Linked DNA regions of Homo sapiens: regions 1, 2, 3 and 5 are each linked to region 4. Evidence: promoter capture Hi-C in human tissues and cell types (Jung and others, 2019). All regions are on one chromosome and are shown on one strand. The core of a region is centred on a gene start or on the middle of the fragment in contact, and the rest is flanking DNA. Distances in the headings are between cores, read along the strand shown. Region 1 overlaps SRSF6 (serine and arginine rich splicing factor 6). Region 2 overlaps L3MBTL1 (L3MBTL histone methyl-lysine binding protein 1). Region 3 overlaps IFT52 (intraflagellar transport 52). Region 4 holds the start of JPH2 (junctophilin 2). Region 5 holds the start of L3MBTL1 (L3MBTL histone methyl-lysine binding protein 1).

The links. Contacts are between HindIII fragments. The study calls those that stand out against the background at their distance.
Region 1: a contact is called between a fragment that was not itself captured here and the fragment with the promoter of JPH2 in region 4, in 1 of the 25 tissues and cell types used here (hippocampus).
Region 2: a fragment that was not itself captured here is called in contact with the fragment with the promoter of JPH2 in region 4 in 1 of the 25 tissues and cell types used here (spleen).
Region 3: a fragment that was not itself captured here is called in contact with the fragment with the promoter of JPH2 in region 4 in 1 of the 25 tissues and cell types used here (dorsolateral prefrontal cortex).
Region 5: a contact is called between the fragment with the promoter of L3MBTL1 here and the fragment with the promoter of JPH2 in region 4, in 4 of the 25 tissues and cell types used here (IMR-90 fibroblasts, adrenal gland, lymphoblastoid cells and 1 more).

Annotation. Positions count from the first base shown.
Region 1 is chr20:43,461,087-43,463,786 of GRCh38, reverse strand. SRSF6 (serine and arginine rich splicing factor 6) reads right to left here. Exons shown (of 6, transcript NM_006275.6): 6 at 1-2,700. Among named protein-coding and RNA genes, the nearest start is that of SRSF6, 4.5 kb to the right of the region's middle. The HindIII fragment of the contact is 4,185 bases long and covers 1-2,700 here.
Region 2 is chr20:43,523,045-43,525,744 of GRCh38, reverse strand. The region is part of intron 7 of L3MBTL1 (L3MBTL histone methyl-lysine binding protein 1); the gene reads right to left. It also overlaps the pseudogene LOC107985380. Among named protein-coding and RNA genes, the nearest start is that of L3MBTL1, 17 kb to the right of the region's middle. The HindIII fragment of the contact is 4,063 bases long and covers 1-2,700 here.
Region 3 is chr20:43,612,391-43,615,090 of GRCh38, reverse strand. IFT52 (intraflagellar transport 52) reads right to left here. Exons shown (of 14, transcript NM_016004.5): 7 at 1,115-1,241. Among named protein-coding and RNA genes, the nearest start is that of IFT52, 23 kb to the right of the region's middle. The HindIII fragment of the contact is 3,361 bases long and covers 1-2,700 here.
Region 4 is chr20:44,185,844-44,188,543 of GRCh38, reverse strand. It overlaps JPH2 (junctophilin 2), which reads left to right and starts at 1,356. Exons shown (of 6, transcript NM_020433.5): 1 at 1,356-2,217. The coding sequence starts at 1,839. The HindIII fragment of the contact is 16,539 bases long and covers 1-2,700 here.
Region 5 is chr20:43,506,369-43,509,068 of GRCh38, reverse strand. L3MBTL1 (L3MBTL histone methyl-lysine binding protein 1) reads right to left here and starts at 1,372. Exons shown (of 22, transcript NM_001377303.1): 1 at 1,325-1,372. RefSeq lists a silencer at 1,162-1,491. The HindIII fragment of the contact is 9,495 bases long and covers 1-2,700 here.

The DNA of each region.
Region 1 (2,700 bases), core at 185-2,684, 720 kb after region 4:
ATGAGTTGCCCAACATAAACCATATACTAAATCCCAAACTCACGTTTCTGGGTAAGTGAACACAAGATCCTGTTCTCATACTCAAGACAGGAATGGCTTGCCAATGCAAACTCCAATTCAAAAAAACATTTGTTAAGAATCTGGTCCTAAGTGGGCATATGCAATAAACTCAAAACAAGCCTTTCCCTCAGTAAGTATTTTATTGAGATTTAAAGCACAAAATAGGTGAACAAATCGGGAGGAAGGTGGTAACACAGGAATGGGAACGTAAAAGTCAAAGTAGGCAGGACTCAAACTGGCCATAAAGGCACTACGGCATGTTCATAAACACCATCAAGTAAAAGAAAGGGGAATCAAGATGTTCTCACTTCTTTTCTGCTCCACCTTAATACTCCATCTAGCCACTGGTATGGAGCATGTCATCAACTCATTCTTCTCACAAGCTAGCAAGGGAATTAAACATTTTATCAGTCAACCCTATGCTCACCAAGTGAGCCAATGTTACACAGTGATTTTGTGCATCCAGTGACTGAGAACTACAGGCAAGGATAGGCCCTGACTGTTAATAAATTGGTCGTGGCTATTACTAGAAAATTATGGGTGCAGGCATTTACCTATACAATGACCTGCTTACTGTGGCAGCTAACAATATAGTCAAACCAGTCTATTACCATATGATGTCCTATTAACAAGAGAGCCCAGTTGAAGGATGTTTCATACTTTTAGAAAGCCTAATTTCTTACTGTAATATCCTCCCATCCCTCTTTTAAAAAGGCTGTAGTTCAAAAAGCTTTTATGTTCTTTCCCTGAAAACAAGAGAACTTTGGTCAAAGCCAATTTTTAAGAGTCATCACTTCTGCTGAGTAGGCAAAACAATGAACTATAACAACAGACATCATTTTCTTTCCTTAAATTCTGAGGTTTATGCTGGAAAAATAAACCCATTTCTTTATAAACATCTAATTAAATAAAGTATCAAAGAAAATAAGATAATGGAAGAAGCATCCGCCTTTTGGGGCACTATATTCCTAAGGTTGGGCTTTAAGATTTTTTAACAGGAAACCCAGGAATTTCTGAAAAACAAGGCCTTTTTCACATTACCAAGAACTCACAGCTACTCTGTGAATGCCCTAGATATTTGACTCAAATTTTTCACTCAATCTTATTAGGTATATTTCTGGATTATTTGAATCTACAAACCAACCCTAGAATATCATGCTTTCCAGTCACACCTGTGGCACAATGAGCAGTGTACGACCATGCCCCATCACAATCCAACCCTTGGTACCCTACATTGTGACACCTCCTAGAAAGGTATTAAAGCTGAGCCAATTAATCTATATTTTGATTTCAGACTAAGATTAATAAATGCTTTTAAATAAAGTAACTTTTAAGGTATCTGAACAAAGGGATGTAAGGTTAATTCACTTCTCAAACTGCAATTTCAACTCATCAGGCTTATGGATGTATGGACTAATTGCTAACCTAGTAACTCCTACAAATTTGCAGTATTCAAATTTGGTTTCCACAGTACTCATTACACTTTACTCGTAATAAAGTACAAAAGTTTTGCGTTTACCCATTTCACTGTTTTTCAAACCAATTACACAAAGCATTAAAATTTACAAGTATGATCTAACCAATTATCAAATAATCCCACTAACTACAAAGGGGACTGACTACTGGGTGGAACTTAACTGGCAACTGACTTTACTGAGATTAAGTGCCTGTTAAACATAATGATCTTTCAGCAGAAAATGCAGTATGTGCTTTTACACTTTGAATAAACTCAATTTCAGAACAAAAAGAGGCTACTTCCATTTCCACATGACAAACATTAAAGACAACTGAACCACTCTCAACACTAATTATGCTGAGAACTTCCAGAAAGTGGATTCTCTAAACAAGATCCCAAGTATTAGGAGCTATTTCTTAAATAGTTTAAATTTGCCTTTGAAAAAAGTTCCATTACTTAAAAGTATTAATTTAAGCAAAATCATGGAACACATTGACTAAAAAATACCTTTTATTTTTACTCAACTTGTTAAAGGGGCAGATAAAGACTTTGGCAAATTTGATTAACTGCACAAAATAATGTTATCCAAACTGAGTAATTTATTGCTGGTCTGAGGCTTGCCTTGTTTACACTTAAGTAGAATTTACGTTGTTTCCACAAATGGCAGATATCAACATTTAAAGGAATTTAATAGTGACCTATTCAATAAGGCAATCATCTTGGTAGCAAACTTTTATTTAAATCTTACATAACTCAAGCTTTATAAAAAGCCAACATAATTGAAAATTGGGTTCTCCCTCTAAAGCCTTAAGTATTCAAAGCTCAAAACAGTTAATTTAAAAATAAGCAAACAAATAAAACAAAAAAACCCTGCCAGCAGATCCTGCTGAAATACTAAAAAAAAAAAAAAAAAAAAAAAAAAAAAAAAAAAAACAACACTAAATGAGCTTAATCTTTACAAAAGTTACGTTAGCTCAAAAGCTATAAAATCAAAGTTATCTTAATTCTACAAAGAAGGGAGAGGGTCTTCATGCCACCATTTCCTTAGAGCCTCATCTTTTTCATCCAATTTGGCCACAAATCAAATTTCTGTGTGCCCCTGTTTTCAAGAGATTCCTCTTGCAGAAGAGGCCAAGTATAAACATGGAAGAGTAACTGCCTAAGTAGGAAAGTGTTCCATAATA
Region 2 (2,700 bases), core at 132-2,631, 660 kb after region 4:
ACAAGATTCAATGTAATCCACTGGAAAGAGGCCTGACCACCAAATCCTTCAGCAATTACTAGATTCCTTCCCTGACCAACACCCCCAGCCAAATTCAGTTTCCTGCCTCCTTTTTCTATTGTTGAACAATGGGCTGAGCTCTTAGGCATATCCCTAAACCCAAGTAAGTCCCAAGGCTCCTGTGTATGGTTGTATAATCTGTGCACTATACATAGGTACCCAGCCAAGGGTGTGAATGGGGCTAAAATCCATCCTGGGCTTTCTGCCAAGCCAAGTGGCTGAGTCTACTGTGAAGAAAGGTTGCCCTTTTCTAATTGGTCTGCCCTGGAGAGATGCTTTTTTTTTTAATAACTTGTACAAAGGTACCATATTGGCTAGCGGTGGCACTGATCCTCTCTCCACTTCCAGAAATGCTCCTTTGTTTATTCCTGCTTCCTTAGACCAGATGCTCTTGGATAGCACTTTCTTTGGCAAGCTCAGCCTGATCTAAAACCAAACTTGTAACTTCTCTGCCAAAGCCTGTGGCCCTTTCGGTATTCGTTACCCTAGTCAATGGCGCCACCATCCATTCATCCAGTCACGCAAGCCAGAAACTTGGAAGTGATACTTTATGCCTTTTTTTTTTTTTTTAACTCCCCAGGATCCTTCCATTCTACTGATTCCAACTCCTAGTTATCTCTTGGATCTATATCCATCTCTCCACATTTACTGTCCTTGCTTTGAGCCTAGTCCAAAAGCCTCTTAACTGGTCTCTGCCTCACACTTATTCTACTGCCAGAATACATATCAAATGAAAAAACGTGTTTATTTTCTTTAAGTTCCATGGCTTCTCATTTCCAACCCAAAACCCCAAAATCTAAACACCTTTCCACACCACACACAGCCTTGGTGAACTAGCTACTCCCCATCATGCCAGCTTCATCATGCATTTCCATGCCCCTGAGCCTCTGTGCCTTTGCATAGGTTGATACTTCTGCTTTAAAATCCCACCCCCACCTTGTTCTATTAGCCTATTTTTTTCACATCCTTCAAGACGTAGCCATAGTTCCAGCACCTAGCACAAGACTTACATAAAATAGATGCACAACAAATGCTTGTTAAATGACTATAAGGATGGATGGATGGATGAGTGGATGGATGGATGAATATCATCCCATCTACCCCATGGAACCTTTCTATACTCCAGCAGGCAGAGTTTGTTCTGTGACAGCCCCTTGTATTTACATACCTCAAACATAACACTTATTATATGGTTACATAATAATCTGTTGACATATCTATTTCTGCAACTAGATTATGAGCTCATTAAGTGCTAGTACTGTGTTTTGCTTACTCTGAACTCTTAGTATCTAGCCCACTATCTGGTACATAGGAGGCACTTAGTATTTGTTAAATAAAAGAACAACGATGGAAATAACTATGTATCAAAAACTGAGATGCAGCCAAAGCAGTATTTAGAGGAAAATGACAGCCTTAAATAAACATATTAGAAAAGGAGGATGGCTAAAATTAATGAAATTTAAAAATCAAAATAAATCTGTCTCATGAAGTTAGAAAAGTAAAATTAACCCAAAGAAAATGGAAATAAATTTTTTTTAAAAGACAAATAAAATTAGTAAGTTTCTGGAAAGACTGATTAATAAACAAAGAAAAACTCTGGGAGGCTGAGGTAGGAGGATTGCTTAAGGCCAGGAGTTCCAGACCAGCCTGGCCAACATAGTGACATCCTGTTTCTTTTTTTTTTTTTTTTTTGAGATGGAGTCTCACTGTCACCCAGGTTGGAGTGCAGTGGCACGATCTCAGCTCACTGCAACCTCCGCCTCCCCGGTTCAAGTGATTATCCTGCCTCAGCCTCCCGAGTAGCTGGGATTACAGGTATGCGCCACCACACCCAGCTAATTTTTTGTATTTTTAGTAGAGATGGGGTTTCACCACGTTGGCCAGGCTGGTCTCAAACTCCTGACCTCAGGCAATTCGCCCGCCTTGGCCTCCCCTATTTCTATCTTTAAAAAAAGTTAAAAATAAAAAGAAAATAAGAGAAATTTAAAAATGTCCTATAGATATTAAAAGGATAAGGAGATCTTGTTGACCAGTACAGACCTTCAGGAGAGCGGTGCAAATGCAGGCCTGCTATAGTCTACTGTCTGCACAGGACAGGGTGAGAAGAGAACAATGCCGCAGGATACTGGTCCACTAGTGCCTTTGCACTGGTTTGGGTTTTGGCTACGCAGCACTGGTTGCCTCTGGAGGGATCACTGACTATGCAAAAGCAGGTAGAATGCTATTCCTCTCTGGGGGTTTAACAGGCCTGGGTGCTTATCAGCTCTCAGGATCCAAGGGATGCTTGGGTTTTCCTTGCTACGTCTGAGACCTTGGCTGGCATTATGGGAATGAGATTCTACCACTCTGGAAAATTTATGTCTCCAGGTTTAATTGCAGGTACCAGTTTGCTGATGGTCGCCAAGCTTGGAATCAGTACGTTGAACAAACCCCATCAGTAGCAGTCATCTTCCAGCTTGGACTCTTTAAGAATTAAAAATCTTCAAACTTCCACTATTTTCAAGGTATTAACAGAAATAAGTACAGCATTTTTGCATATTCTGACATTTTACTTTATTTATTTTTATTATTTTTTTTTGAGACAGGGTCTCACTCTGTCACCCAGGCTGGAGTGCAGTGGCGGATCTCGGCTCACTGCAA
Region 3 (2,700 bases), core at 69-2,568, 570 kb after region 4:
ATGCCTGTAATCCCAGCACTTTGGGAAGCCAAGGTGGGTGAATCACTTGAGGTCAGGAGTTCGAGATCAGCCTGGCCAACATAGTGAAACTCCATCTCTCCCAAAAATACAAAAATTAGCCATGCTTGGTGGCAGGCACCTGTAATCCCAGCTACTCGGGAGGCTGAGGCAGGAGAATTGCTTGAACCTGGTAGGCGGAGGTTGCAGTGAGCCAAGATCATGCCACTGTACTCCAGCCTGCACAACAGAGTGAGACTCCATCTCAAAAAAAAAAAAAAAAAGAAAAAGAAAGGCAGTGGGATGTTGGGTCACTGCCTGGGACTAGCTGTGCCCACATTTCTATGGGGTCTCTAGGATAATAACTGGAAAAATAGTTTTCTGATATATTTTCCTAGTATAAACTAACAGCAACATAATTCTGTGCTATTTTGTGTAATATGTTAACTCCATCTGTTCCTGAATGTATTCTCTTTACACTGAGGGTGACAGCCCATAGTCACAGACAGGATTAAAAGTTATTTTCATCAATATGCTGCCATGGGATCAAAAAAAAAAAAAAGTTATTTTAAAAGTTATAATACAGCACTTCGGGAGGCCAAGGCGGGTGGACCACGAGGCAGGATGGTCAGGAGATCGAGACCATCCTGGCTAACATGGTGAAACCCTGTCTCTACTAAAAATACAAAAAATTAGCTGGGCGTGGTGGTAGGTGCCTGTAGTCTTAGCTACTCGGGAGGCTGAGGCAGGAGAATGGCGTGAACCCGGGAGGTGGAGCTTGCAGTGAGCCGAGATTGCACCACTGCACTCCAGCCTGGGCAACAGAGACTCCATCTCAAAAAAAAAAAAAAAGTTATAATACAGGTAGCCTCATGCTACAGTGGAAAAGCTTCGGGTTTAGAATAATAAGAGCTAGGTTTAGGCCTTAACTTCATCAATTACTGGACAATCCACTGTTTCCCCATAAGCAAAATGTATATAGCTGAAATGCTACTTTGCAGGACTGGCAGGAAGACCAGTGAGAAAACATATAGAAGCCTTCTGGAAATGGTAAGGTGGTTTTTATTATTTCAACAATAAAAATAACATCTATACCCATATCTAAGAAAAGCTGTACCTTTGAGTGATAGAAAGCCAAAATGGGTCTGTTAAGTGGGAAGCAGACAGAACCTGTAGACAGAACCGCCACTGCTGGTTTCATGACACTCAATGTGGCACCAAAAGGATACACAAAGGTGAGAGCCCTGTAAGAAATTAAAGAAACACATTCAAATTTTAAAAACATGAATACAAAAATTCTGAAAATAATCTCAATGTTTCTTGAGTAACACTCTTTTTTGAAACAGTCTCACTCAGTCACCCAGGCTGCAGTGCAGTGGTGCGATCTTGGCTCACTGTAACCTCCGCCTCTCAGGTTTAAGCTGTTCTGCAGCCTCAGTGCCTGCTATCACGCCCAGTTAATTTTTGTATTTTTAGTAGAGCCAGGGTTTTACCATGTTGACCAGGCTGGTCTTGAACTCCTGGCCTCAAGTGATCTGCCCACCTTGGCCTCCCAAAGTGCTGGGATTACAGGCGTGTGCCACGGTGCTCAGCTGAGTAACACTCTTTGATTCATTATCAAACAAAAAATTTTTTCTAAGCTTTGGTTTGTTAACTTAAAAACTGGGACAACTCTAGCTACACATTTAATAAAGCATTTTAAAAAACATGAAAGTAAATTAACAGGAAAGTGTAAGTGACTGTAACTGGGAGAACTAAAGAAGCCCCTGATGGAGGGAGGAGGAAGAGGATGGGGCCTCATCCAAGAACTGAACTCAAGCTGCTCTGCATAATAATATCTTACTGGTAAATACGTTCTTCTTCCTTAGGTTTGGCTAGTGCTATCTCTAAGAATTAATGTATATCACTGGATGGGTATGTTACCAGTTAAATGTCACATGAACAGAGGCATAAATATACGCTATAATGGACACTTCTACACAGATCTGCTTTGGAGTCCCTCCTCTACTCTCCACTGTCCTAACAAAGACTTGTCTTAGATTATCTAGAGTGAATTGGTCTGACCTGGGGCAATGTACTCCTGGAGAGGGTGTGGGATAGAGGAGCAAAGGTGGGGTGCAGATTCTGGGGTGAAGCCAACCCATGTAGGAGGGGTTAGGGTTTTACTCAAAGATGGAGCTCTGCAAAGCTTGAAGGAAGTGCTCTCAGAATGGAGAGAAACACAGATCTCAACACCAGGGCGTAAGGTTAGAAACTGGGGGAGGGGGTATAGGGGAAGCACCCATGAGGGGTTCCTCATAGAGATTTTAATTTCCCTTTTTCTTTAGACAACAAAAATTCTTTTTGGCTTAAGTTTAAAATTATTTCCCTCTAGTGTTTTTGTTTGTTTTGTTTTGTTTTTTAAGACAGGATCTCACTTTGTTGCCCAGGCTGGAGTGCAGTGGTATGAACATGGCTCACTGCAGCCTCAATCTCCTGGGCTGAAGCGATTCTCTTGCCTTAGTGCCCTGAGTAGCTGGGACCACAGGTGCATGCCACCACACCTACTAATTTTTATATTTTTTGTAGAAACGGGGTTTCACCATGTTGCCCAGGCTGGTCTTGAACTCCTGAGCTCAGGCAATCCGCCCACCTTGACCTCCGAAAGTGCTGGAATTACAAGCATAAACCACCGGGCCTGGCCTCCCTCTGGTGTTAATCTTC
Region 4 (2,700 bases), core at 107-2,606:
TCTTACCACACACACTCACACAAACACACACTTACCACACACACACAAACACACACACTCTTACCACACACACTCACATACACTCACACACACTCTCTCACACTCTCACAGACACACGTTCACACACACGCACAGACACACACACACACAGATCTTCCTAGTCTTGGTGGCTCTTACCTTTCCCAGAATTCCTCTATACTCCCATTAACCTTGGGCTTAGCTGGGATTTACAATCATTAGCTCTGGCCACAGCTTCTTGCCATGGAGATTTATTTGTTCTTTTTACTGGAGTTTGGTGGGAACCTGAGTGGCTGGGAATCCACCCAGGCCCTTCTCTCCTGGCCCTGCCCCAAGAGCTTTCTGAAGTCTGGCCTCACAGGCTCCTAGGACACTAGAGCAAAAGACAGCTCAGAAAGGGAAATTTTAAAAAATCATGACCCTTGAGAATTTCTGAGAGGACCTCATTACAACACAACCCTGTGTTGACAGGAAGGGGACTCCTTTGACCTTCAGGGTCTGCTGGGTCTGCGGCAGGGGGCAGGGAGGGCGCCGAGGCATCAAGGGGTGGGGAGAGGAAGCTAGCGGGACGCCCAGTCTGTGTCTCAGGCAGAGAGGAGGGCAGGCTCCTCTCCCTTCTCTTTGCCCTTCAGGAGAAAGAGAAAGGGAATAGATGGTTGCTTCTTGCACCAAGTTCTCCCCGGCTTCCAGGGGTGGAGGGAGCTCAGGGTGGTGAGTGAGCACTGGACTGAGATTCTGTGTATCTTCCAGACCCTGTTTCCACAGCCTCCCCTCTCTTTCTGACTTCCCTCCTCTGCTTTCGGAAGCACATGTGAAACTGTCTCCATTCCTTTCTCTTTAGGTCACTGGATTCCTTGATGGGGCTGGCAGTGGTGCTGTAACCCCAGGTCCCCTTAGGGCATGTGAGTGGTGATGGGGCTGAGATCTGCCAACCTCCTCGCTCTGGGGGATTTTCAGTGTTCCAGGACTGGGTGTTCTGCTGGTCTCCCTCTCCCCTCCCTTCCCCGATTCCCCGGTGCCCTCCCTGCGCGCAGACCCAGGGGACTCTGAGAATGGAAGGGAGCTCTCATTCCCGGGAGGAAAAGACACCAGGTTCCCTGGGCTGCCTGCACTCAGTTCTCAGCCTCCTTCCTCATGCCTCCAGCCACTGCCCGGGTCTGCGGCACGGGCGCGATTTGAAATACCCCTCCTTCCCGCTTTGAAGAAGGCTGGGCTGGCTGGGGGTTATTTTGGGAGCAGCTTCTGAGATCCAATGGCCTTGTTAGGGCAACACTGACCTTTCCGTCCCAGAAGGAGGGCAGGATTGGAGAAGGGGGCGGGGCAGCGGCGGGGAGACCGACAGCCCCGCACACCCACTGGGGTGGAGAAGGGGGCCAGCGGGCTGCGGGAATTCAGCCTCCGGCGGGGGCTGCCACCGAGGGGAATTTCCCCTCTTTGAAAAGGCTGGGGACCCCTCCACCCCACCCTTTCACTGGGCTTCTTAAAGAGATCACACCGTTTTCCCTTGGACTTCTTGGAAGGCAGACTTGGGACGCTTTGTGGGGACTTTGAACCTTTCCTTCCTGCTTTCTTTCCAGCAGGCAGCCTTGCTCTGGCTGGTGGAGTCGGGGCTCCCGGGCATGGCACTGACTAGCCGACCCGGTGCTGACTTGGCGCCGGGGCTCTTTCAGCCTCTGCTGGCATCCTGCTTCCCCCCTCCTGGGGTGCAGTGGTGAGTCTGGGGGCCTGCCCCCGAGGGCACTGGAGGAGTGTTGCAGGCATCACCCACGCCCTCTGCACCCACGCTGGAGGACGGGGAGGTTGTCAGGGGCTATGATGAGATGAGTGGGGGCCGCTTCGACTTTGATGATGGAGGGGCGTACTGCGGGGGCTGGGAGGGGGGAAAGGCCCATGGGCATGGACTGTGCACAGGCCCCAAGGGCCAGGGCGAATACTCTGGCTCCTGGAACTTTGGCTTTGAGGTGGCAGGTGTCTACACCTGGCCCAGCGGAAACACCTTTGAGGGATACTGGAGCCAGGGCAAACGGCATGGGCTGGGCATAGAGACCAAGGGGCGCTGGCTCTACAAGGGCGAGTGGACACATGGCTTCAAGGGACGCTACGGAATCCGGCAGAGCTCAAGCAGCGGTGCCAAGTATGAGGGCACCTGGAACAATGGCCTGCAAGACGGCTATGGCACCGAGACCTATGCTGATGGAGGTGAGGCCAGCTGGGGGCCCGCAGAGGTGGGGTGGAGCCAGGGAGGGTGAGAAACCCTGGTGGAGGGTGGGAAAGGCGACCGGCAATTGGCACAGAATCAGATGGGCTAGGAAGTGATTTGCTGTGTGGTTTTGGGCAAGCTGCTCTACCTTTCTGAGCTTCCATTTTCTTGTAGTAAAGATGGAGCTAATAAAGGGGTTATTGAGAGGATTAGTGGCAGTGCTTAGTACAAAGCCTGCCATGTAAGTGCACACTCAACACACAATAAAATATAACTACTACCATTAGCATGTTCGGTATGCCCCAACATAAACAGCCATGGAATATACTCTAGCAGAATTAGGGTCTAGTCTTAACTTTGCCATGAAAATTATTTTCAAGCAATAGATCATGAGGAGTATTCATCCACCCACCCATCCATCCATCCACCCATCCAACTATCCACTCATCATCTATCCACACACCAATCCACCCACCCGTCCA
Region 5 (2,700 bases), core at 123-2,622, 680 kb after region 4:
CATGAAGTGAGGGGGGACTCAGAAGAGTCTGGGTTTCTGGTGGACACTGAAGAAAGTTTTCAGCCTTCTGCCGTCAGCCTCTCTTGGAACTGCTCTGAGCCTAGGGAGCTACCTCACTTGAAGGCTCTCCTAGAAGCCGCCAGCCAATGACGAGTTGCTATGAGGTGTAAAGACCCCACCCCCTTGCCTTACTTTGGAACACCTCTGCAGGGCCATCTCAGTTCCAGAGCTTCCATTAGGTCAGGCTGAGGCCTCTGTTGAGACTACATCAGCAGTTCAGCTTCTTCTTCCGCCCAACCCGTCATTCCCCTACTGGTGATATTCGCAAGAGCACTCCGATAAACCTACACTCAAATCTTGCTATCGGAGTCTGTTTCGGGGGACCCGACCTAAAACAACCATTGTAGCCCCAGCCCAGAGCCGTGCACATAGCAGATGCTCAATAAATATCTGTTGGCTGAATGTGTCCATGGGTATTTTCTCTTGATGTCTGACAAGGTTTTCTCAATCCCTTGCCTTCCAAGGCCTTGTATACAAAAACGACCAATAAATGTCCTTACTATAGGTGTTGGGTGGGGAGTAGAGCCCTCGACAGCTACCCAGAAAACAACACACAGCAAGGCTGAGCGCTACAAACTTGGGGCCTCGGCCCCGCCCCTCGCCGCAGCTGCTTCCCGGACTCGGGAGGGGACGGAAGCGGCCCTGAGCGCAGGGTTCCAGGATCGGGACCCGCCACCAGCCTCCCGGGACTGGTATAGGCAAAGGCGGGCGGGGCGGTCACTGATCCGACAGTTCCGCAGAACGGTTACTTTTTAAAACGCTAAAATGGCGGAATTCTTTTTATTCTTTCTCTTTATGGCCAAAAAAAAAAAAAGAGAGAGAAACAAAAAAAATTCCATATTCCATTATAAAAATCCAAAATTAATGGTAGGAAAGTTTGCCAAATGACTCATTCATTTCCCAAGAAAACCAAAACCCCGCCCTCCACACCTTTCCATTAATAAAAAAACTCTTAATTGATTGCGTATCTCCAAACACGCAGCCTCCACCCTCCTCGCCCCTCCTGATCGCAGCCCGAAGCCACGCCGCAGGGTCGGCTGGGCCTGGAGTCCCGCACCCGCCTGGCCCCCTGCGCGCTCCGCCCAGACCGCTTTCCCCGGCGTTTTCCCGAACCTCCTCCCCAGCCCGCGCCCCCCGCCGGAGGCGCTCGGAAGGAGCGAGACGCCGGGGCCGCAGACCTGAGCCCTCGCCGCCCTGGACGGAGCGGGGTGGCGCGGCGCCCAGGGGACGCAAGGTCTGAGCCCACGCACCGCTGGTTGCTTACCTGCCTGGCCAGCCGGTGGCCGCCCAGCGCCTAGCTACGGTCCGAGCCGGGCGCCGCGCGCCTGCGCGTTCGGGGGGCGGGTCCGCCTCCCTGCAGGACGCAGAGCGCGGGGCCCGAGCGCCGGGCACATCTGCCCGGCCCAGGCGCAGGCCCAGGCTTCTGTGGCGCCCGCGCCCTCTTGCCTGCCTTCGAGGCCCTGGTTGTGCGCGCCTCATGCCCCCTCAACCTAGGACAGGTTTGCCGCACGGGCGTGGCGGGTCGAGATTTTTCCTGCCCCCGAACCCCTGCATCACAGCTAGCAGAGCGCAGCGGGGGCGCAGGGACCGCGGAGCTCGAAGAGAGAGCCTGGAGGGCTACCGAGCTGAGTGGTTAGTGACAAAAGACGAGGCTGCACCCAGGCATGCACCCCAGCCGAGTGTCTGCTCTGTCCAACGCCTTCCCACCGCGCCTGCCCTCACCCTGGAGGGGAGCTCAGGAGCGTCAGAAAACGGCCTCAGGAAGGGTGAAGGGCACGTGCGACCGGAGAGAGGAACCCTCGTGCGGGGACTCTGGTCCTGGCCCTGCCGGGCATAAAGAGCGGCATTAGCCGCGTCTACTTTTGGGTGACCCCACTGCGAAGGGCTGGGTAACATCAGTATCCCCCAGGTCCTCCATTTCGACATTGGTAAAGACTATCACCCACTTCATGGCGTATGGTCGTTTTCAGTTTGGGTTCCTGTGGTGGTGTAGCAATCACTGCCCCTCTCTGCTTCACTTTGACTGATCTCTTCGCCTCCACCTGATCTCTCTAATTAATCAAATCTCCTTGTTATTGGTTCTGGTAACACAAGATACCTGTCTCGCTTACACATACCACAGCTGGCACTTCACATAGATTTGAGTAATTCCAGAGGCTAAGAGGTTTCAAGCTCCAAGAGGGTAGGAAATATTAGTTTTTGTATTCCTAGTACCTAGCCCAGAGCGGGGCACAGAGTGGGTGCTTAATAAATATCTGTTGAGTGACTAAATGATGTAGGGTATGCAGATGAAAACAGGGTAACTTTTGGTACAGTCCACCATCCAGCCCCTCTCCCACACCAATGATTTAATTTAATCCCTTGATTTTACTTGGCCTTAAGTCATGGCCACATGTCAGACCACCAGGCTCCTGATTCCCTCCCAGGCCAGATGAGAAAAGGGTTCCTAATGAAATGTAGGCAAATTCTCCAAATTGCTGTGATCGACAGGTTTAAATTTATGCAGAATTTAACTATTCCGGTTGCCACGCCAACGCATTGCATGTGTTCTTCCTTGCTGCAATGTCAATTTTTAATCACATCTCATATTATTGGGAACAGGATTGCATCAGTTAAGGATGCTGGTTGCCATAACGATGG